Regions from separate parts of the Homo sapiens genome. Here all the other regions are linked to region 1. The links are contacts of gene promoters, found by promoter capture Hi-C in human tissues and cell types (Jung and others, 2019). All regions are on one chromosome and are shown on one strand. Each heading gives the region's core, a stretch centred on a gene start or on the middle of the fragment in contact. The rest is flanking DNA. Distances are from core to core; before and after follow the strand shown.

Region 1 (4,209 bases), core at 887-3,386:
CCATGGTAAGAATTAGTTTTATTAGCTGTAAAACAGGAAGTTGTTGGACATTTAAAAATACAACAGGAAGTTGTGGAACATTTAAAAATTGGGAATGTATAGGTTTTCAAAGGAAACTTCTGCCTAAAGTTAAAATTGGGGAAGGGAGGCATTGCAGGGGTAGAAGTACGGGGACCACTTAGAGGGCTACTGCATTTGTCTATGCAGGAGATGAGGGCAGCTGGGCTGTGGACTCAAGTAGTAAAGATGTGATAGGATGTGTTTTGGAGGTAACTGTCCAGGTTTTTGTTAACAAGTAAAATGAAACGAGGAAGCTAGAAAGCATAGTAATAATGATATACTAGCTAATACTTCTGTAGCACTTTCCTGGTCCCTTTTAGATATTTTACATAGGTTAACTACTTTAATACTCATAATAACAGTACTCATAAGATAAGTACTATTATTATCACTGTTTCATAGATTAGAAAACAGAGTCACAAAGAGGTTGAACGACTGGCCAAAGATCGCCCAAATAGTAATAGCAGAGTATGCACTCAAACTTAAACATCTGATCCCACAGTATGTGTTCTTCCTTCAGTGTTCTAGGACACCATATACATATTTTATATATACTATATATATCTCAGCATGTAAGTGCATTGGAGAGACACAGAGCATCAGGATGGACTAACTGATATGATTTTCAAAATTTTCAAGTGAGCAAAGGTTATGGAGGAAAAGGGTAAAAGATCAGTCCCTACCTGTAAAGACATAATTCCTTTTATTTTTGTTTACATATATTTGTCCAGGGCACAAAAAATGTGCTACTGTGGATGGCATAACAGGTATAATATTAATAAATATTCATCATTTTATCTGTGTGTATCCAATACAGATTTCTCAGATTTCCTTGTGAAATCAGGGAAATATGTAGCTTTGTTCTACAGAAGCCCAGACCACGGTATTTTCTTTCCAGGCCACTGCTAGACACCCAGGGGGCTCAATTTCTTGCCACAGTTTCGGAGAGCTTGCTGGTTAGGTGCTGCTCTTGGTTGGAACCAGTCGGCCCGCATGCAAAACAGACCTGTCTTCCACACCTTGTGGTTACTATGCAGCAGGGGGCGCTGCAGTAGTGTACATCGCGGTGCACCGGAGCTACTCTCCTGGCCAGAAAGCCAACAAGCCGGGAGGAGGCGTGTCAGGCAGCCCTGGGTCCTCTTTGGTCTTGCAACTTTAGTACCCAGAGCTTGTTCTACACAGACCATTCTACACCATATTTCACCATGTTGGATGCTTTCCATCCAGTCCTGCCTCCGAGCGGAAAGGAAAGGGCATTAGCTTACTGCCTTACTAGGTTTAAGTATAATGCTGTACCGGCTTGCACTAGAGGTTTCTCTCCTGTGTTCTCAGGGTCAACCCGACAGTCCCTCTGAAACCACGAAGGGGTCCCCGGGCAGTTGCTGCGGGGTGTGTGTGTGTCTTTCTTTCCCTTTTTGGGGTCCTTTCTTTTTAACCTTACTGAAGGAGGAAACGTTTCTCTCCCTACACGTCTTTCCACTGACATTGTGGCCAACCGTAGGCTAAGAGCTGAAATCTCTCCTTCCTAAGTTGCCTCCAAGCTCTCCAATACTACCTCCTCCCCCCCATTTAGTCTCACACACAGTGTGCGTGAGAGATCGCCAGTGAGTTTGTGACAACCGAAGCTGCAGCAGTCGCCAAACCTGTTCTTCCTCTCCCGGTCTCAGAAGTCTCTCCAGCTGACCGGACTTACGCCTGGCAGCTCTTGGCACACACAGCGCTGTGGCTGAGATTCAGCCGTGCCAGGCGCTGCCAGGCAGCAGCGGGGCGACCGACCACCTCCTCCTCGACCTCCTTTCTCCCAGCTTCCCCTCCCAGGGTGCACTGTATCTACTCCTTTGGGCTGTCTTCCAGCCGTCGCCCTTGGGTCCCGGGGGCTTTCCAGAGTGAAATCGAAGGTGAAAGAAACAAGAGGACGGGAGGCTGGTAGGAGGAGCCTCCAGGCCGGGGAGGGTGGGAGGAGCCTCCAGCCCGAGGGGCAGGGTAGGAGGAGCCTTCCGGGAGGATCTGGGTGGAGAAAGGGGCTGGGCCAAGCCGGGATGGAGGGTTGGTCACGCAGGCGCGGGGGGCCGCGTCGAGAACCCCACGCGGGAGCTTCTGGAGTCTCCAGCCACCGCTTCTCACTTCACTGGAGAAGGGAGCTGGGGCTGGGGCTGGGGCTGGGGCTGGGAGGGAGCTAATAAACATTGAATGTGCAGCAGCTGCCTTGGCGGCCGGAGTCCGCCCGAGCGACACCGGAGCAGTGCGCCCGGGAGGCGGCGAGGGGAGGCGGTTCGCCTTGTCCCTCCCACCCGCGCCTCTTTCTCTCTCTTCCTCCAGCTGGTCCCAGAGCCCGGCTTGGTCCGGTCCCTCTGCCCCCATCCCGCACCCTTCCACCTCCTCCGAGTCCCACTCCTCACCTAGGACGCCCCAAACTGCCATGGGTTAGGGTGGGGATCGCGACCCGCGCGAAAGACCAGCCCTGCGCTTCCGCCGGGGGACGCGGAGCCCAAACGCCGCTCACCGCTTGCGGGCGCCGGGCATGGGGAGTGTGGTGTGAGCCCGCACCCGGGGAGGACGCAGGAGCTGCGGAGACGGGCGCGAGGAGGAGGAGAGGAGTCGTGGATTGGAAGGACCCGAGGGAGGGAGGGTGGGGAAGCGAGGGAAAAGTGAAGCTGGGAGGAGAAGGCGGCGGAAGGTGGAGATTGATGCTTCTGTTTTTTGTTGCCGCTGCTGCCCTCGCGCTGGGAGCCGAGCCGGAGGGAAGGCGGTGGAGAGATGATTGCAGAGTTGGTGAGCAGCGCTCTGGGGCTCGCCTTGTATCTCAACACCCTGAGTGCGGATTTCTGCTATGATGACAGGTAAGGGGCCGAGAGGAGGGGGCGACGGGCTGCAGGGGGCACACTCCGCAGTGGCTCTGAAGCTTCCCTCTTTAAGGCTCAAAGTGCGTCTTGGAGGAACTGGTTCAGCACCTGATGGTTTAGGCGACACGTAAACATTAACACCTAAATCAAACACCGGGGACGTGAGGCGCGCTGGGCGGGCCGAGGGAGTTTCCGCTCCTAGTTTGCAGCAGGTTCTCTCCCTTGCTTCTCGGCTGTTGGCAGACGCTTGAGTTTCTTAGCGGAAATCCCGGCAATTTGGGAAACTGTTTAATGAACGTATTAAATTAAAGTCTTAGGTATTCCTTGATGCAACAAAGCACATTAAGTGATTTTACGTCTGGTTGGGAGGAAGCCTCTCCTCGATCCCTGATAGATCCTCCCTGTCCCGTTTCCTTTTATTGATGGGACACTTTTATTTCCCGAAGTTAAAACACACGTTTGATAGTTGCCAAAATTGTGAAAAGGGAGATCGTTCTCTGCTTTAACTTTCCCTTTTAACGTGTATAGACTTTTACTTTGAGCCAAAATAATGCTGCTGATGGTCTCTCCCGCCGCCCTAGCCTCCTTCACCAATCCATTGGGCAGCACTTTATAAAAGCCTCGGCTTTCTCATTTCTGTTTGGGAGTTGTACATTAGATGTTAGTGGTTCTTTTGTACTAATTGGAGAAGAAGACGCCCCTAGAGACTGAAGTTGTCTTCTGCACTTAGGTTAGTTTGGGTGGCTAATGAGACCTGAACTGTGTTGTCAAAGAAACTGCATCGATTTCTGGAAAATGTCACCGTTGTGTTGGTGTCTCTTCCTATCTTTTAAACGTTATTAGTGTTCAGAAAGTGATGAAAAGCCCCTATATCCATTAGGGAAAATTCCAATTTGTGTCCTTCCGGTGTCTTAATCTGATTACAATTAAAACAGATGCATAATTAAAATATATTAGGGATAACAGCACGCCTGGCTAAACTTATTAACCGTCCTGGGGTGTTTCATGCTCCATTGAAATTAAACCATCCAAAAAGTGAGCACAGATTTACTTTGACAGCTTTTCAGCAGCCTCTCTGAGCTATGAAAAGTGAATGGATCCCCAGGGTTAGGGCGAGGCAGTGAGAGCACTTACGCAAAGTGGTTGACAGTGAGGGGAGGTGAAGGCAGAATCTTCTTCTCGTCGTAATTAGCCACATTCTGTATTCTCTGGTGTGCCCATTCTCCTGCTAAAAGCATCTTCACATCTCTGTTAAAAAATCACCTGATAATAGGTGCCAGAACATCCAGCAAACCCGTCTTAATGC
Region 2 (4,209 bases), core at 1,248-3,747, 1.7 Mb after region 1:
CATATGAACTTTAAAGTAGTTTTTTCCAATTCTGTGAAGAAAGTCATTGGTAGCTTGATGAGGATGGCACTGAGTCTATAAATTACCTTGGGCAGTATGGTCATTTTCAAGATATTGATTCTTCCTATCCATGAGCATGGAATGTTCTTCCATTTGTTTGTGTCCTCTTTTATTTTGCTGAGCAGTGGTTTGTAGTTCTCCTTGAAGAGGTCCTTCACATCCCTTGTAAGTTGGATTCCAAGGTATTTTATTCTCTTTGAAGCAATTGTGAATGGGAGTTCACTCATGATTTCGCTCTCTGTTTGTCTGTTATTGGTGTATAAGAATGCTTGTGATTATTGCACATAGATTTTGTATCCTGAGACTTTGCTGAAGTTGCTTATCAGCTTAAGGAGATTTTGGGCTGAGACAATGGGGTTTTCTAAATATACAATCATGTTATCTGCAAACAGGGACAATTTGATTTCCTCTTTTTCTAATCGAATACCCTTTATTTCTTTCTCCTGTCTGATTGCCCTGGCCAGAACTTCCAACACACATAAGCTCAAAACAAAGGGATGGAGGAAGATCTACCAAGCAAATGGAAAGCAAAAAAAGGCAGAAGTTGCAATCCTAGTCTCTGATAAAACAGACTTTAAAACAACAAAGATCAAAAGAGACAAAGAAGGCCATTACATAAACGTAAAGGGATCAATTCAACAAGAAGAGCTAACTATCCTAAATATATATGCACCCAATACAGGAGCACCCAGATTCATAAAGCAAGCCCTTAGAGACCTACAAAGAGACTTAGACTCCCACACAATAATAATGGGAGACTTTAACACCCCACTGTCAACATTAGACAGATCAACGAGACAGAAAGTTAACAAGGATATCCAGGAATGGAACTCAGTTCTGCACCAGGCAGACCTAATAGACATCTACAGAACTCTCCACCCCAAATCAACAGAATACACATTCTTTTCAGCACCGCATCACACTTATTCCAAAATTGACCACATAGTTGGAAGTAAAGCACTCCTCAGCAAATGTAAAATAACAGAAATTATGACAAATTGTCTCTCAGACCACAGTGCAATCAAACTAGAACTCAGGATTAAGAAACTCACTCAAAACCGCTCAACTACATGGAAACTGAACAACCTGCTCCTGAATGACTACTGGGTACATAACGAAATGAAGGCAGAAATAAAGATGTTCTTTCAAACCAATGAGAACAAACACATAACATACCGGAATCTCTGGGACACATTTAAAGCAGTGTGTAGAGGGAAATTTATAGCACTAAGTGCCCACAAGAGAAAGCAGGAAAGATCTAAAATTGACACCCTAACATCACAATTAAAAGAACTAGAGAAGCAAGAGCAAACACATTCAAAAGCTAGCAGAAGGCAAGAAATAACTAAGATCAGAAAAGAACTGAAGGAGATAGAGAAACAAAAAACCTTTCAAAAAAATCAATGAATCCAGGATCTGGTTTTTTGAAAAGATCAACAAAATTGATAGACTGCTAGCAGACTTATAAAGAAGAAAAGAGAGAAGAATCAAATAGACACAATAAAAAATGATAAAGGGAATATCACCACTGATCCCAGAGAAATACAAATTACCATCAGAGAATACTATAAACACCTCTACGCAAATAAACTAGAAAATCTAGAAGAAATGGATAAATTCCTCAACACATACACCCTCCCAAGACTAAACCAAGAAGAAGTTGAATCCCTGAATAGACGAATAACAGGCTCTGAAATTGAGGCAATAATTAATAGCTTACCAACCAAAAAAAGTCCAGGACCAGATGGATTCACAGCTGAATTCTACCAGAAGTGCAAGGAGGAGCTGGTACCATTCCTTCTGAAACTATTCCAATCAATAGAAAAAGAGGGAATCCTCCCTAACTCATTTTATGAGGCCAGCATCATCCTGATACCAAAGCCGGGCAGAGACACAACTAAAAAAGAGAATTTTAGACCAATATCCCTGATGAACATCGATGCAAAAATCCTCAATAAAATACTGGCAAACTGAATCCAGCAGCACATCAAAAATCTTATCCACCATGATCAAGAGGGCTTCATCCCTGGGATGCAAGGCTGGTTCAACATACGCAAATCAATAAATGTAATCCAGCATATAAACAGAACCAAAGACAAAAATCACATGATTATCTCAATAGATACAGAAAAGGCCTTTGACAAAATTCAACAGCGCTTCATGCTAAAAACTCTCAATAAATTAAGTATTAATGGGACGTATCTCAAAATAATAAGAGCTATTTATGACAAACCCACAGCCAATGTCATACTGAATGGGCAAAAACTGGAAGCATTCCCTTTGAAAACTGGCACAAGACAGGGATGCCGTCTCTCACCACTCCTATTTTTCTGAGACACATTTTAAGGTCTATTGCTGAAACAAGTTATCTAAATTTATAATAATTTTATACTCTTGGCATAGGTGGAAATTTTTAAAAGTAAAGTAGATGAATATTTTCAATTTCCTTTAGTTTGTAGTCCTCTGTGACAAATTTTTTGAACATTAGAGAAGTTGAATGGTAGGCAAACTAGTTAATTGTCATAGCATCCCTTTTTCATTCCTTAGTGATATGAGAATTCTTTGTAGTCTCCTTAGGAAAGTGCACAATAATGTGTTCCATCCTCAGTTACACGAACGTAAAATACCTCTCCTGCCCTCAAATGAATTCCTTCTCTCTATATTACGTATAATTCAGTTTTATGCTAAAATTCAATTGAGAAAGAAATATGTAAATATGTAAAAATATTTAAATTAAACTTTTTTTAGAGCATGATAAATATGTCCTTAACATCTAACACATTTATTCAATCTGTCATTAAAAAATGCTATTTTTCATGGTTATAAATTTTATGTAGACCATTCTCAATAACAAATTTATTGTATCACTATTAATGTCTTCCTGACTTTCCACTTTGTAAAATATATACAATTCAAAAAAGCCATTATCCTGACCTTTTCAATGGTCACTCTAATTTTTTTTCCAATTTTATTTCAAAACAGAGAATATCCCTAAATCCTCTTTAACTGCAGCCCACTATATAAGAAGTATGTTGTTTTTAGGATAAAAAATATTATATTTAGCGATTTTGAATGCTACTTCTACCCCTTGCTTTGCTCTTCTACTATTATGCGTGTTAGTCAATTACAGTACACTGTCGAAACCTTTACCTTAAGGTCATTAAAGCGGTCAGACTTGATAAACACTACAGACATCAAAATGGTTATGTCTAATGAGAGTAAAATTATTTATTCATTTTTTACCTCGTTTTGTATATAGTTACTAGAATCAGATGCCTTTGATCAAATACACTAGTTTGGTTTTAACAGTTGTTAAAAAATTTTCAAGTCTCCTAAGGTGCTGTAGGGACACACTTGAATAAATGTGTTTTTGAATAATATAGAAATTTTGACAAAATTCTCAGTTTTTAGGCACTAAAAACCAGGGATGCAAAAATATGAATGAATAGTATTTCCGGACTTGTTTAAATAAATATTCATATAATTAAAAAATAATGCCAAATTTCTCAAGCTTTTGATTTTAAGTAATCAACTAAATTCATTTATTTTCCAAAAAAAAAGATGTTTTCTGTTATTGATGAGTAAAACTTATAAACTTTTTTATTACTATATGAGGTGCTTTCTTTTTTCTTTACTCAATCAGAAAAGAAGCCAAGGTTATCAGCCAATAGTCATGTGTTCATACACACATATTTTTATAATGTTCACATATCATGTAACCTTTGTGGCAAGAAAGTTAAGTCTCATATTCTAGCAAAACCTTCAGTTGAGGGCTCATAACTCACATTGCAGTCCATTAGTCTCAGATAAAGCTTACAATAGCAGACATGATTACTTAAACAGTTCAGGAATATATGATGAGGCATTACTCAGCCATCTAGTGTAAGTAATCATAAAAGATATGCCACAGTTTATTACAGTTAAATCAGCAAATGGGTCCTGAAGCACTAGCAAAATTATTTGCCTTTATATGCACATTCAACTTATCTTTGTAAGTAGAGTCTCATGAAGATAAGAATCATTGAAATTGAAATAGACCAGGAAAAAAATATAGCTTGGCTATCTGATGCTATTATTGATGTAAATTGTAATTTAAGGTCAGGAAAAAAAGAGTTTTACTTTCTCTTTTCCCCTATGAAGATGTAAGAT
Region 3 (4,209 bases), core at 922-3,421, 1.6 Mb after region 1:
CTAAATTTTTTTGCTTTGATCTCTCTCTACTATCCTTTTAAAATTTTAATTACACGTGTGTCTGATATTACATTAAAAGTTGATGAGACTGTTTTTCTCCCTCTGTTATTTACCTGGAATATTTTCTATTAATCTATTTTCTACTTCATTTAAAATGTAATTGTCATCTTTCATTGGATGTTAAGACTCCAGAGTGATTTTCTTTCCTATATTATTTAATCCAGTCTATCTAGAATTTCTATCTTGTCCTTTTTATCATTTCTATTTCTCCTGAGAGTTTATATATTTCTTTCATTTAATGAGCCTATTTGATATTACATCATTGAATACACTAATAATAGTTGCTTTAAAACTTTTATTTGATAGTTTGAATATATAGTTTACCTTTATGCAGACTATGTTTTTTCTTTTCTCTTGGAAATGCATGCCATTTTCATGATTCTTTGTGTGTCATGTAGTTTTAGATTGTGTTTTGGACATTATGAATATTAAGTTATAATTATTTGGGTTCACATATTTCTCTGATGATTTTGTTTCTTTTATTTTTTCAGGTGATTTTCTTGCTTATGCTTAAACTATAAACTATTTTCACAAAAGGCAGCTTCAGCAACAGTTCAGAATTTTTGCCTCTAGGTGAACTACTCTGAGTCTGTTCTATGTATGCACGGCTCAGATATCAGTGAAAAATATAGGAAGACATAATTTGGGCATCTTTTCTCTGCCTCTTTTCTTTTTGAGTTTCCCACAATTATTGTTATGATGGTCTTCTGCCAACAGTCTTCTGTTTCCCCAACTTAGATTACAGGTTTTTCTACCAGTGATACTCCTGACACTGAAAATGCAATTAGTTCCAGGATAAAAGCCACAGAAATGAGGAGATAACTTTATACTGCTTTTCTCCTCTAAGAGTATACTATTCTCCAGTATCTGCCTGCTTCTATTAATATCTAAAGTCTTCAGGTTGTTTCCTAATATATGATGGCTTTATAGTTGTTTCCATGGTGAAGGTTCTTTAGGAGGGTCTTACTGCAGCATAATTGGAATTCTTAAGTTGAGAAATGTTTTTCTAAATGATAAAAGCCATGCAATTATTGCATTTATTTAATAAAAATAAATGTGATGCAAAAAAGAGCATAAATCTTGTTCAGTTTTCAATTTTTAAGAAAATATCTCTTTCAGGTTAGTAAGCTGTTAGTTACTGAATTATTCACAAGAGTATTGCCAAAAAGTGTTATTATAGTCAGATGTCTAACTGCACTAATATTTCCTACAAAATAGCTTATTTCTTAGAATGACATAAGCTATTTAATATTATACATTATACAGAATACAGAGAAAGTAAAACACTAAACAATGATCAAATAGTGGTATTCAAGAACTTGAAATTCTTGCATGATTTATAAGAAGCTATTTAGAGTTCTTATTTTGTAATTACCATTTGCCTTTGCAAAAAACTGGTATCAGGAAATAAGTTGTTTAAAACTTGAAATAATTTATTCACTAAATCCACATATTACTAGTGAACAATTATAATAACATTGTATATTATCATTTTAAGTTACTCACTTGTGCAAGTATTCTGTGATATTCAGAAAGTCATTTTTCACAGATGTCGTTTTGATCCTCCTGAAACCAATTTCATTCTACTTTGCCTGACAATATCAGTCAATTCAAAATGCTCTAATAAAATACCATAGATTGGGTGGTTTGGGGTGGTTTAAACAATGGACACTTATTTCTAACAGTTCTAGAGACTAGGAAGTTCAAGATTAAGGTGCCAGCAGATTTGGGTCCTGGTGAGGACTCTTCATGACTAGCAAATGCCAGCCTTCTCATCGTCTTCACATGGTAGAGCTCTTGTGTCTCTTCCAGTTCTTATAAGGGCACTGAGTCCCATTATGAGGTCTTCACCTTTATAACCACATCTAAATCTAACTCTAATTATCTCTTAAAGGCCCCATTTCTTTTTCTTTTTCTTTTTTTTTTTTTTTTTTTTTTGCAGAGTCTTGCTCTGTTGCCAGGCTGGAGTGCAGTGGCGTGATCTTGGCTCACTGCAACCTCCACCTCCTGGGTTCAAGCGATTCTCCTGCCTCAGCCTCCTGAGTAGCTGGGACTACAGGCGAGCACCACCACAACCAGCTAATTTTTGTATTTTTAGTAAAGACGGGGTTTCACCATGTTGGCCAGGATGGTCTCAATCTCCTGACCTCGTGATCTGCCCGCCTCGGCCTCCCAAAGCGCTGGGATTACAGGCGTGAGCCACAGTGCCCAGCCTAAAGGCCCCATTTCTAAATACCATTATCACATCAGGAGTAAGGTAAGACTTCAACATATGAATTTCGGAGAGATGAAATACAATTTATAGTACTGATTTTCCCTATATTATTTTCAAAATTATATAGCTTTAAATAGGCATTGCACAAATATCTTTGCATGTGTGTATATAAGAATAAGAGATGCATTCATAACATTTTTCAAACCCTCAGTAACTGATGGCTCAGATTCTGTTTAAAAATCTAATTAAGGTTGTAGATACTCACAGAAGGGCTTCCAAACATCCCTTTATGATGTCTGTTGTACGGGTTGTCACAACATGAATTATTTGGTCACAGTTTTTCAGAAAAATATAGATTATTATGACCTAACTTCTTTCTTCTTCTTTTAACAGGTAAATATAAACTTAAAATTACAAGTCTCACTTCTATGAAAAAACATAAAATAGAGGGAAAATAATTCTATCATAACTTACTTTAAATCTAGAAAAGTTTTCAAGAAGAATTTCAGGGCTATTATTTTTAACGTAAGACATTATATCTCATATCTATAAGAAGCAAGGTTATATTTCAGGCATGTTGAATTTTGGGTGAAATCAAACTCTTGAAATTGCAATAATGCAGTCTTTCCATTGTAATTTTTGTGATTTCGTTCAAAAGCATGTGGGTCTTCCTCATACCATTCAGTGTTTTAAAAGTTCAAACTCCTCACATTTGTTATATTTATATAAGTATGTTTTAAACACAGCACAATGAATTTGCCGATAACCCTCATAATCTGTCTTACATAGCTTTTGTAGAAATTATAGCAATGCTTAGTATGATTACTAAACAAGGTCATTTTGAAAATAATTTGTGATAAATGTAATGGAAATTGCTTTGAAAACAAAAGCATTATACAAATGCTGGTAATTATACAATTTTATAATTGTCTTATTCCTGAATTAGAACCACCAGCCTTTTAACTGGAACAGTCTTCTCTATGCTCTTGAAACTCATCAAAGCTGTTTCTCATACTATATATCTATATATTTGCCTATATTATTCCATCTCTCATGGTGTGTAGTTCCTTCTTTCCTCCATCAATCCATGTTCAATCACTACTTTTAGGATGAAGCGCTTGAGTTACTATTTTTCTCCAATTATTCTAGTATTCATTTATCTTACTGCTATATACTTTTTCTCTTATGCGGCAACGTATTCTGTGAAAATATTCATTTTGACTTGAACAAAGACTAACATATGTTTTAGTCATATCACAAAGCTTCTTTCTGTAGTTGCCATTACCACCTGAAAGAAAACTTCTACATACCTGGGGAGCTTGTTACAGATTGCATACTGCTTTTTTTTTTTTTTTTTTTCAGAGTCTCGCTCTGTCTCCCAGGCTAGACTGCAGTGGTGTGTTCTCAGCTCACTGCAACCTCCACCTCCCTGGTTCAAGCAATTCCCCTGCCTCAGTCTCCCGAGTTGCTGGGATTACAAGCTCCCACCACCACACCCAGATAATTCTTGTGTATTTTTAGTAGAGACGGGTTTTCACCATGTTGGCCAGACTGGTGTCGAACTCCTGACCTCTGGCAATTTGCCCGCCTCAGCTTCCCAAAGTGCTGGGATTACAGGCATGAGCCACCAAGCCCAGCTGCATACTGCTTTTAATTGAAAAAGATTTTATAATAGTCAGGCTACTTTTTAAACAATGTCTTAGCAAGTAGAGGGCTAATGCAGTTTAAAAAAGGATATGTTCTCTTGCCAATGAATATAGATTTTTATATGTTCTTTGAGAAATCAATTTATGATTTTTATGTAGGTGTACATTTAATGTAAAAAGAATACTTACATTGGAAGAATGATTTTATTAGTAAATCTCAATAACAAACCTGTCATTTTAATGAACTAGAATATAACTGAACTCTTAAGAATTACAAAGTTAACATTT
Region 4 (4,209 bases), core at 619-3,118, 1.4 Mb after region 1:
ATTTGGTTTATCTGAGGGTTGCTTAAATGCCTTTCAATTGACAATGACTCATATTGTCCATTTGTAATTTAAATGTGTTTTTATTTCTCTAAAACTGTGCTGATATTCATTACTAGAATGGTATTTAATAGGGATTTTGGTTGTAAAAAATTAAGGGTGATTTTTCCAGATCTTTTTGCTGGAACCATAGAAACACTAAACACTTTCAAATTCCCCCTTCATCCACATTCAGTCATCAAAAATGGATGGTTTCATATACTTAAAAATAAGCCCTGTTGGCCGGGCGTGGTGACTCACGCCTGTAATCCCAGCACTTTAGGAGGCCGAGGCGGGAGGATCACGAGGTCAGGAGATCAAGACTATCCTGGGTAACACGGTGAAACCCCGTCTCTACTAAAATTACAAACAATTAGCCGGGCGTGGTGGCGGGCGCCTGTAGTCCCAGCTACTCCGGAGGCTGAGGCAGGAGAATGGCGTGAACCCGGGAGGCGGAGCTTGCAGTGAGCCAAGATTGCGCCACTGCACTCCAGCCTGGGTGGGTGACAGAGCAAGACTGCGTCTAAAAAAAAAAAAAAAACCCTGGCAAAATTTAGCATTTTTATAAGTTTTAGTATTGCATAGCATATTCTAAATATGCATATATCACCCAATACTATTTTTACCTTTAATTAAATTAACTCACTTTTAAATTTTAAATATTTACTTAAATTTTGAGCTACACAAATGAATTTTGGTATTATTCAGTCAGCAAAGGCAATAAAAACCCATTAAGTTTCCATTCAGTGATTTAAAATGACAGGGAAAAAAAGAGCTACCTCGGTATTAATATGAAAGAGAGAGTAGCATTCTCTCAGGGAGCTATTGTTATCTGTGATGGATCTGGATGTGAATATATTGCATTTTGTCATATAAATATTTTCCACAGGGCTGCTGAATTACAATACTCTAAAGCTTTCCTTTTTCTCCATTCTCTTGCCATTACACACAAAACCAAAATCACTTAGAAACTCACATTAACTTAATATGTTATTTCATTCTGTTGATTGTATTTTTGGATTTTCCATTTCATGGAAGAATTGAATGCTTATGATAAAAGACATTACAAGTATCTTAGAATTGTGTGTATTAATATTTCTTAACATTTAATATTATTTTTGAAAATAAATCTTAAAAAGCTTCTACTTTGTTCATATTAGATTCAAGCAATAATCAGTGATATTATATGTACTCTTATTTATAAGTTATAATTGTTCTTTGACTAAAACATCACATGTATATATGAAAAAGGTGACTAAAAGATAAAAATTATAATAGTATAAATATTAAGGAATAAATTTAAATGTAATATGATTTATTTTATTTTTAAACACTAACTTTATTGTGTATCTTGAAATATTACAATTTTCTTTTAGGAGAGGAGAAAGAAATCAAATTTAGAATATCTACTATGTAACAGGGAGGGATGTTGTACATTTACTATTTAATGAGATTGGTATAGTACATACACAGTGAGATTGGTGCAGTGGTAATAATAATTGAAATAGCAAGAATTATGACAATGTATTTAAGGCTTACATTTTTTTCAGATGCTTTTCTAAATATTTTACATGCATTAAATTATTTTTCTTCATAATCAACCTCTGAGGTGAGGTTTATTAATATCTCCTTTTATTTTAATTTATTCCTTCCATTTATTTTGTTTATCTTTTAAAGTATTTTACCCTAATCTGATAAAATAATTAGTACTTCCTCAAGTTCCATAAGAATTTCTTTAATGTTTGTTTTTTAACTGAGGTTTTAAGAGTTGGAGCCTCTATTTGATTAAAAGCATTTTGTTATCAAATATTGAATATGTGCTGTTACATAAATGGTCTGACTTCCATTTCTAGCTGAACTATTATCTTTAAAATATAATTTCAATTTTCTAAGCCTCAGTTTACCTAACAGTAAAACAAGGTCAATAATAGTTTATAACTCATCAGTGTCAGAAATAACTCAGATTTCATGCATATGCAGTTCTTAGAAAAATATCTGGATCCTAGCACTTTGGGAGGCTGAGGCAGGCAGATCACCTGAGGTCAGGAGTTCAAGACCAGCCTGGCCAACATAGCAAAACCCTTTCTCTACTAAAAATACAAAAATTAGGCGAGCATGGTGGTGCGTGCCTGTAGTCTCAGCTACTCAGGAGGCTGAGGCAGAAGCAGCAGAAGCGTCACTTCAATCTGGGAGGTGGAGGTTGCAGTCAGCTGAGATCATGCCATTGCACTCCAGCTTGGGTGACAAAGCAAGACTCTGTCTCAAAAAAAAAAAAAATCTGGAACATGAAATTGATTAATACAGATGATCAATCATCTTAAATATAACAAAATTTTCTTACTGTAATGAGTGGTTCAATGGTTCAATTAAAATTTTAGATTGTTTCATGGAATATGTGTGACTTCTCAATCAGATGAAATGTGAAAACATCAAAAAGTTCATTCAAGCAGGATAACAGGGCTGTTTATATGAAACAATAAAATCTTAAAAAAATACTTCATATATAAGTAATATATGGAAAAGGTCTGGAACTATTTGAAAAAAAAATGTTTTTGTTTGGTTCTTCAGATGATACAGAATAGTAATTGGGAGATAGAATTCTAGGTTTTGATACATGTGATAGTTTGACAATTTAGAAACTAAAGCTTTATAAAAGCAATCATGGTATAGTGGCTGACTGGTTATTCAAATAGTTAGATCTCAGCCTGCCTGGATTCCAATCCTTAGTATAAATAATGATTCTGAAATTGCACCTTAGGAGACATCATAATTCTATGCATGCCCTTGCTTAAGTGAGAGGGCATTTTTAGCACGATTATTCTAAACTGTAAAGAAATAGTTCACCCATATAATGGAATTTAAGCAGCACTTTTTAAACTTTATTGTGTATGCAGCACCTGAAAATTTTATTAAAATACAAGATTCTGACTCAGTTGTTCTGAGCTAGAGACTGGGATTTGGCATTTCTAACATGTTTCCAGATGCTGCTGATGTTGCTGGTCCATAAACCACACTTTGAGTAATTAAGGACATATTGGAAATTATCCACCCATCGTATAGTATCTTTTCCATCTGTTTATCAGAATGATGGAATTTTCACCACTTCAGATTTATTACTTTTCATCTGTCTATTCTTGTATACAAATTTGAAATGGAAATGCCAGTGGGGACGTTTAGGAAGCAATTCCAACCTAGAGAATCTTTAGTATCAGCCAGACTTAAAGAAAAAGGAAATTTTGCTTGACGTGATTTGGAACAGGTGCACTCATCTTGAAAAAGCTATCTTTGGTAGAGGTCTATCATAGATAGTTGTCCTGGGATGGCTTTAGAAAGAAAGGAAACAAGAAGAGGCAGAAACATAGAGAAAAGAAATGTAGAAATCAGTTAAGTCAAACTTTACCCACCTTTCCATTTACCTTATGCAAGGTCAAGAGGACAAGTATTATATTAGTTTGTATTGCTGCCATTACCACAATTTACAAAACATAAGTATCTTAAAACAATACCTGTTTATAATCTCACAGTTCTGAAGGTCTGAACTTCTGAAAGTCTGAAGTCTAAAGCACCTTGACTGGATTCTCTTCTCAGGGTCTCATTAAACTTGAATCAGCGTATTATATCTGCTGGGGCTGTCAGCTAAGTCTCGGGGTCCACCTCCAAACTCACTGATTGTTGGCAGAAGTGATTTTCTTCGAATGCTTTCCCCACATTGTCCTCTTTACCATCAAGCCAGCAACGGTGGGTCAGTGGGTTGAGTCTTTCTCGTGCTTTTAATCTCTTTTTCCTTCGCTACCAGCCAGAGAAAGCGCTATGCTTTTGATGGCAGCTGTGGCCTATCTAGAGCAGCTGCTGCCATGACGCAGGTTGCAGTGGGGGAGGCGCGCAGGGGCTCCACAGAGCCACCTGGAGCCAGGAACAGGAGGGATCCCCGCCCTTTTCTGAATTGGAGGGTCGGGAGGCCAGCCCTCCCAGCTGCAGCCAACTAGTCTCAGCTACAGACCTGGACATGCCTGCGCTAGGGGGCCCGGGAAGCCCCCTTCCCCTGCAGGCTCTGAAGTGCCTGCTCCTACTGCCTGGCCTCTCCCGGCTCCCGGTGCCCACTCCGATTTTGGAGCAAAGTTGAGGCTGAGCCCGAGTGCTGTCACGATCCTACTGGGTGTGCACGCACTCGAG
Region 5 (4,209 bases), core at 531-3,030, 1.4 Mb after region 1:
ATTGTTAGTGGATCAAAACATAACTGATTTTTGTGTGTTGATTTTGTATCCTGTTGCTTTGCTGAAACTAGTTAACTTTAAAACAATATTTAATATTTTCTGCATATTAGATCAAACCATCTGTAAACAGAAATAATTCACTTCTTTTCCAATTCTAACTCCATTATTTATTTTTCCTTTCTAGTTGCTCTGGCTAGGACTTCCAGTACTATGTTGACTAGAAGTGGTGAAAGTAGACATACTTGCCTTGTTCCTGATCATAAGGGTAAAGCTTTCAGTATTTCACCACTGAGTATGATGTCCACTGGAGGTTTTCTTATACATAGTTTCTATTATGTTCAAGTATTTTTCTTCTATTCTTACTATGTTGAGTGTTTTCATCATGAAAGTGTGTTGAATTTTATAAAATTATTTTTTCTGCATTGAGATGATCATGTGACTTTGTTTCATTAATTATTTTAATGTGGTGTATAATGTTGATCATTTTTCACATGTTAAACCATTTTTGTATTCAGGAATAAATTTCATTTAGTCATAGTGCATAACTTTTTAATATGCTGCTGAATTTGGCTTACTAAGATTTTGTTGAAGAGTTTTGCATCAGTTTTTATAAGGAGTATTGGCTTGTAGTTTTATTTTATCATTGTTTGGCTTTGGTTTTAGGTTATTGCATGCCTTACGGAATGAGCTAGGACGTGTTCCCTCCTCTTTACTTTTTTTGGAAACGTTTCAGAAGGGTTGGTGTTATTTCTTCAAGTATTTGGAAGAATTTACTGGTGAAGATTTCACATCCAGGATTTTTGTTATGTTCTTGCGAGATTTTTGATTACTAATTCAATCTTCTTACTAGTTATACATCTATTCATATTTTCTAGTTCCCATGGTTGAATCTTGATAAGTTTGTGCTTCCAGTATTTGGTTCATTTCATCTGTGTTATCCAAATTATTGGCAGAAAATTGCTCATAGTATTGCATATATTTTTTATTTATGTAGGATCAGCAGTAAGTCCACATTTTAAATTTTTGAGTAATCGAATCTTCTCTTTGAGTCCATATAAAGGTTTATCTATTTTGTTTAATTTTTCAAGAAAACAACTTTTTGTTTTAATGATTTTCTGTATTATTTTTTCATCTCTATATATCTATGCTCTTTATTATTTTCTTTCTTCTAGTATATTTGGACTTTGTTTTTATTTTTCTAGTTATTTAAATTCTAAAGTTAGGTTTTTGATTTGAAATCTTTCTTATATTTTACTGTAGGCATTTATAATTAAATTTTATCTCTTAGCACTACCTGTGTCCCAATAGTTTTGTTTTGTTGTGTCTTCATTTTTATCTTTCTCTACATATTTTCTAATTTTCTTAGGATTTATTCTTTAATATGCTGGTTGTTTTATAGTATATTGTTTAATTTCCACCAAATTGTGAATTTTTCTGTTTCCTTCTGTTATTGATTTCTAACTTTGTAGCATTGTGGTCACAGAAGATATCTTGTATGAAATATATCTTTTTTAAATTATTAAGACTTAATCTGTGGCCTAATGTATGATCTATCCTGGAATATGTCCCATGTTCCTATGTGCACTTGAGAAGAATGTATATTCTATTGTTGTTGGATACAGTGTTTTCTATGTGTCTGTTAGATTTACATGGTTTATTATTTTGTCTAAAGCTTCTATTTCCTTATTTATCTTATGTCTGGTTATTCTATCCATTACTGAGAGTGGGTTATTGAAGTAGCTGACTATTATTATGGGAGTTTCTATTTCTTCCTTCAACTTCATCAACTTTTGCCTTATATATTTTGATGATTTCTTACTATGCACGTGTGTATATAAGTGTTAATCTTCTTGCTATATTGAAAATTTTATTAACATATAATGTCTTTTTTGTCTTGTAACTTTTTTTTTTTTTTTTTTTTTTTTTGAGACGGAGTCTCGCTCTGTCGCCCAGGTCGGACTGCGGACTGCAGTGGCGCAATCTCGGCTCACTGCAAGCTCCGCTTCCCGGGTTCACGCCATTCTCCTGCCTCAGCCTCCCGAGTAGCTGGGACTACAGGCGCCCGCCACCGCGCCCGGCTAATTTTTTGTATTTTTAGTAGAGACGGGGTTTCACCTTGTTAGCCAGGATGGTCTCGATCTCCTGACCTCATGATCCACCCGCCTCGGCCTCCCAAAGTGCTGGGATTACAGGCGTGAGCCACCGCGCCCGGCCAACTTTTTTAAAATTTATAATCTATTTTGTTTGACATTAATGCAGCTACCCCTGCTCTCTGGTGATTAATATTTCCATGGAATATTCATTTTCTCTTTGTATTTTTAACTTTCAAGCTATATGTGTCTTTGTCTCTAAGATAAATCTTTTATAGACAGTATATAGTTGGATAATTTTTAAACTAATTCTGCCAGTCTCTGTCTTTTGACTGAAGAGTTTAAATTAATTGCTGTTTAAAAGTAATGGCTGGTAAGGAGGGACTTACTTCTATCACTATGCTATTTGTTTTCTATAAGCCTTATAGCTTTTTTGTCCCTTATGTCCTGCATTACTGCCTTCTTTTGTGTTTGATTTTTTGTACTGAAACATTTAAATTTATTTCTCATTTCATTTTGTGTATATTATTTATCTATTTTCTTTGTGAGTACCATGAAGATTGCATTTAACATTTTGAAGTTATAATACTTTAATTTGAGTTTATACTAGTTTAACCTCAAAGCCTCTGATTGTTTATAAGCTCTTTTTTCCCAGCCCTTTTAGCTGTTGATGTCACAAAATTACATCTTTATACATTGTATGCCAAAAACCTTAAACTACTTTTTTTGGTTTATTAGTCTCCTAAATATTGTGAAAATCATAATGTGAAGTTACAACCCAAAGTTACAATAATACTGTTACAGGACTCCTTTGGGGCCACTTCACCAAGTGGAAACCCCTGTGGACACAGTGTCCTCTGCCCAGGGACTTGCTCATGGCTACCAAGCTTGCTCTGCCTGCTTGGCCAGGCAGGCTGTGCTTGGCTCATGCCCCAGTCTGGATCCCACGCCTGCCACAGGATCTGCATCCAGCCCGTGGCTGAACTGGGTGTGCCATGAGCAGCTTCCCTGTTGGGCGTTGGTGTTTAGATGAGGGTATGTGGCTGCACCAGAAAACTTGGACATGTCAGGAATCACGGAACCCCAAAGGGTGTTACAGCTGTTGCTAGGGTGTCCTGAGGTTGGAGCCTCAAAAATGTCACAGCTCTTTTGTTCCCCTAGGTCAGCACACAGGACTGTGTGGTGGCCAGTGGCTGGCTTTTTAACTCCCATAGTTGGTGGGCAGGAGTGTATGTACAGCTCTTTTCACATCTGCTGCTCGCAGCTCAGTGAATTGGGGAATGCCACAGCTTTCTCCTTCCTGCTGCCTGCAGCTTGACTAGTTGGTGAGAAGCCTCACAGCTCTTTTCACACCTGCCATTTGGTAGGTTCTGAGTTCTTGTCCTGCCACCAAGAGGATTGAGGTACATGGACAACAGAGAGTGAGCAAGGCAGAGAAGAATTTTATTAAGTGACAGAAAAACTCTTGACAATGAGAGAGAACCCAAAGTGGGTAGCTCTTTGCTGTGAGAGGGGGTCCGAAAGCAGTAGCCATCTGTGAGGCTGAGTCCAGGGTTTTTATGGGCTCAGAATGGGGGAGTGTGTGCTGACTGGTCCATGGGTGAGCTTGGAAAAAGCACCATTCAATTGGTTAAGAGGTGGGCTCTACTTGGAACTAGCAGCTCAGTTTTCAAACTTTAAACTGTCTTCAGCTTGAAAGTTGGGTTTAACCAGGGACCTGTCCCTGTCTGCCTATGAATTTGTCTGTCTCCTGTCATTATCAATATCAGTTTTTAGTACTAGTTTTACTACTAGTTTCTATTTTTCTTGCTTGACATCAAGTGATAGAAACACCTGTTTATGTAGACCAAAATATATTTACATTCATTTATTAACTCAAAAATACTTATTAAGTACATTATTAAGGTTAGGTACTCTATAGAGTTTTTAGAGTACATGAGTAAGCAAAATTGGGGCTACAGTATTCATCTCTATATAGCTTAGTATATGATGTAAAACAGACAGTACTTGGTATTTGATAAGTTATAAATGAGGTGGAGGCAGTGGGAGATATTGTTCTTGTTTGAGTGGATAGATGTTTGTGCAACTGCTCAGAAAGTAATGTTGTGAGATGACCGGG

Evidence for each region. Contacts are between HindIII fragments. The study calls those that stand out against the background at their distance.
Region 2: a fragment that was not itself captured here is called in contact with the fragment with the promoter of TMTC2 in region 1 in 1 of the 25 tissues and cell types used here (dorsolateral prefrontal cortex).
Region 3: a contact is called between a fragment that was not itself captured here and the fragment with the promoter of TMTC2 in region 1, in 1 of the 25 tissues and cell types used here (heart right ventricle).
Region 4: a contact is called between a fragment that was not itself captured here and the fragment with the promoter of TMTC2 in region 1, in 1 of the 25 tissues and cell types used here (lymphoblastoid cells).
Region 5: a fragment that was not itself captured here is called in contact with the fragment with the promoter of TMTC2 in region 1 in 1 of the 25 tissues and cell types used here (mesendoderm cells).

What each region holds. Positions count from the first base shown.
Region 1 is chr12:82,684,770-82,688,978 of GRCh38, forward strand. It overlaps TMTC2 (transmembrane O-mannosyltransferase targeting cadherins 2), which reads left to right and starts at 2,137. Exons shown (of 12, transcript NM_152588.3): 1 at 2,137-2,900. The coding sequence starts at 2,818. RefSeq lists silencers at 1,088-1,167, 2,018-2,117, 2,688-2,737, 3,098-3,157 and enhancers at 1,598-1,747, 1,768-1,977. The HindIII fragment of the contact is 7,716 bases long and covers 1-4,209 here.
Region 2 is chr12:84,371,751-84,375,959 of GRCh38, forward strand. No RefSeq gene overlaps it. Among named protein-coding and RNA genes, the nearest start is that of SLC6A15, 540 kb to the right of the region's middle. The HindIII fragment of the contact is 3,472 bases long and covers 762-4,209 here.
Region 3 is chr12:84,240,029-84,244,237 of GRCh38, forward strand. No RefSeq gene overlaps it. Among named protein-coding and RNA genes, the nearest start is that of SLC6A15, 670 kb to the right of the region's middle. The HindIII fragment of the contact is 3,424 bases long and covers 460-3,883 here.
Region 4 is chr12:84,124,395-84,128,603 of GRCh38, forward strand. The region is part of intron 1 of LOC107984536 (a long non-coding RNA gene); the gene reads right to left. Among named protein-coding and RNA genes, the nearest start is that of SLC6A15, 790 kb to the right of the region's middle. RefSeq lists an enhancer at 3,617-4,142. The HindIII fragment of the contact is 3,410 bases long and covers 164-3,573 here.
Region 5 is chr12:84,088,808-84,093,016 of GRCh38, forward strand. The region is part of intron 1 of LOC107984536 (a long non-coding RNA gene); the gene reads right to left. Among named protein-coding and RNA genes, the nearest start is that of SLC6A15, 820 kb to the right of the region's middle. The HindIII fragment of the contact is 4,144 bases long and covers 1-3,852 here.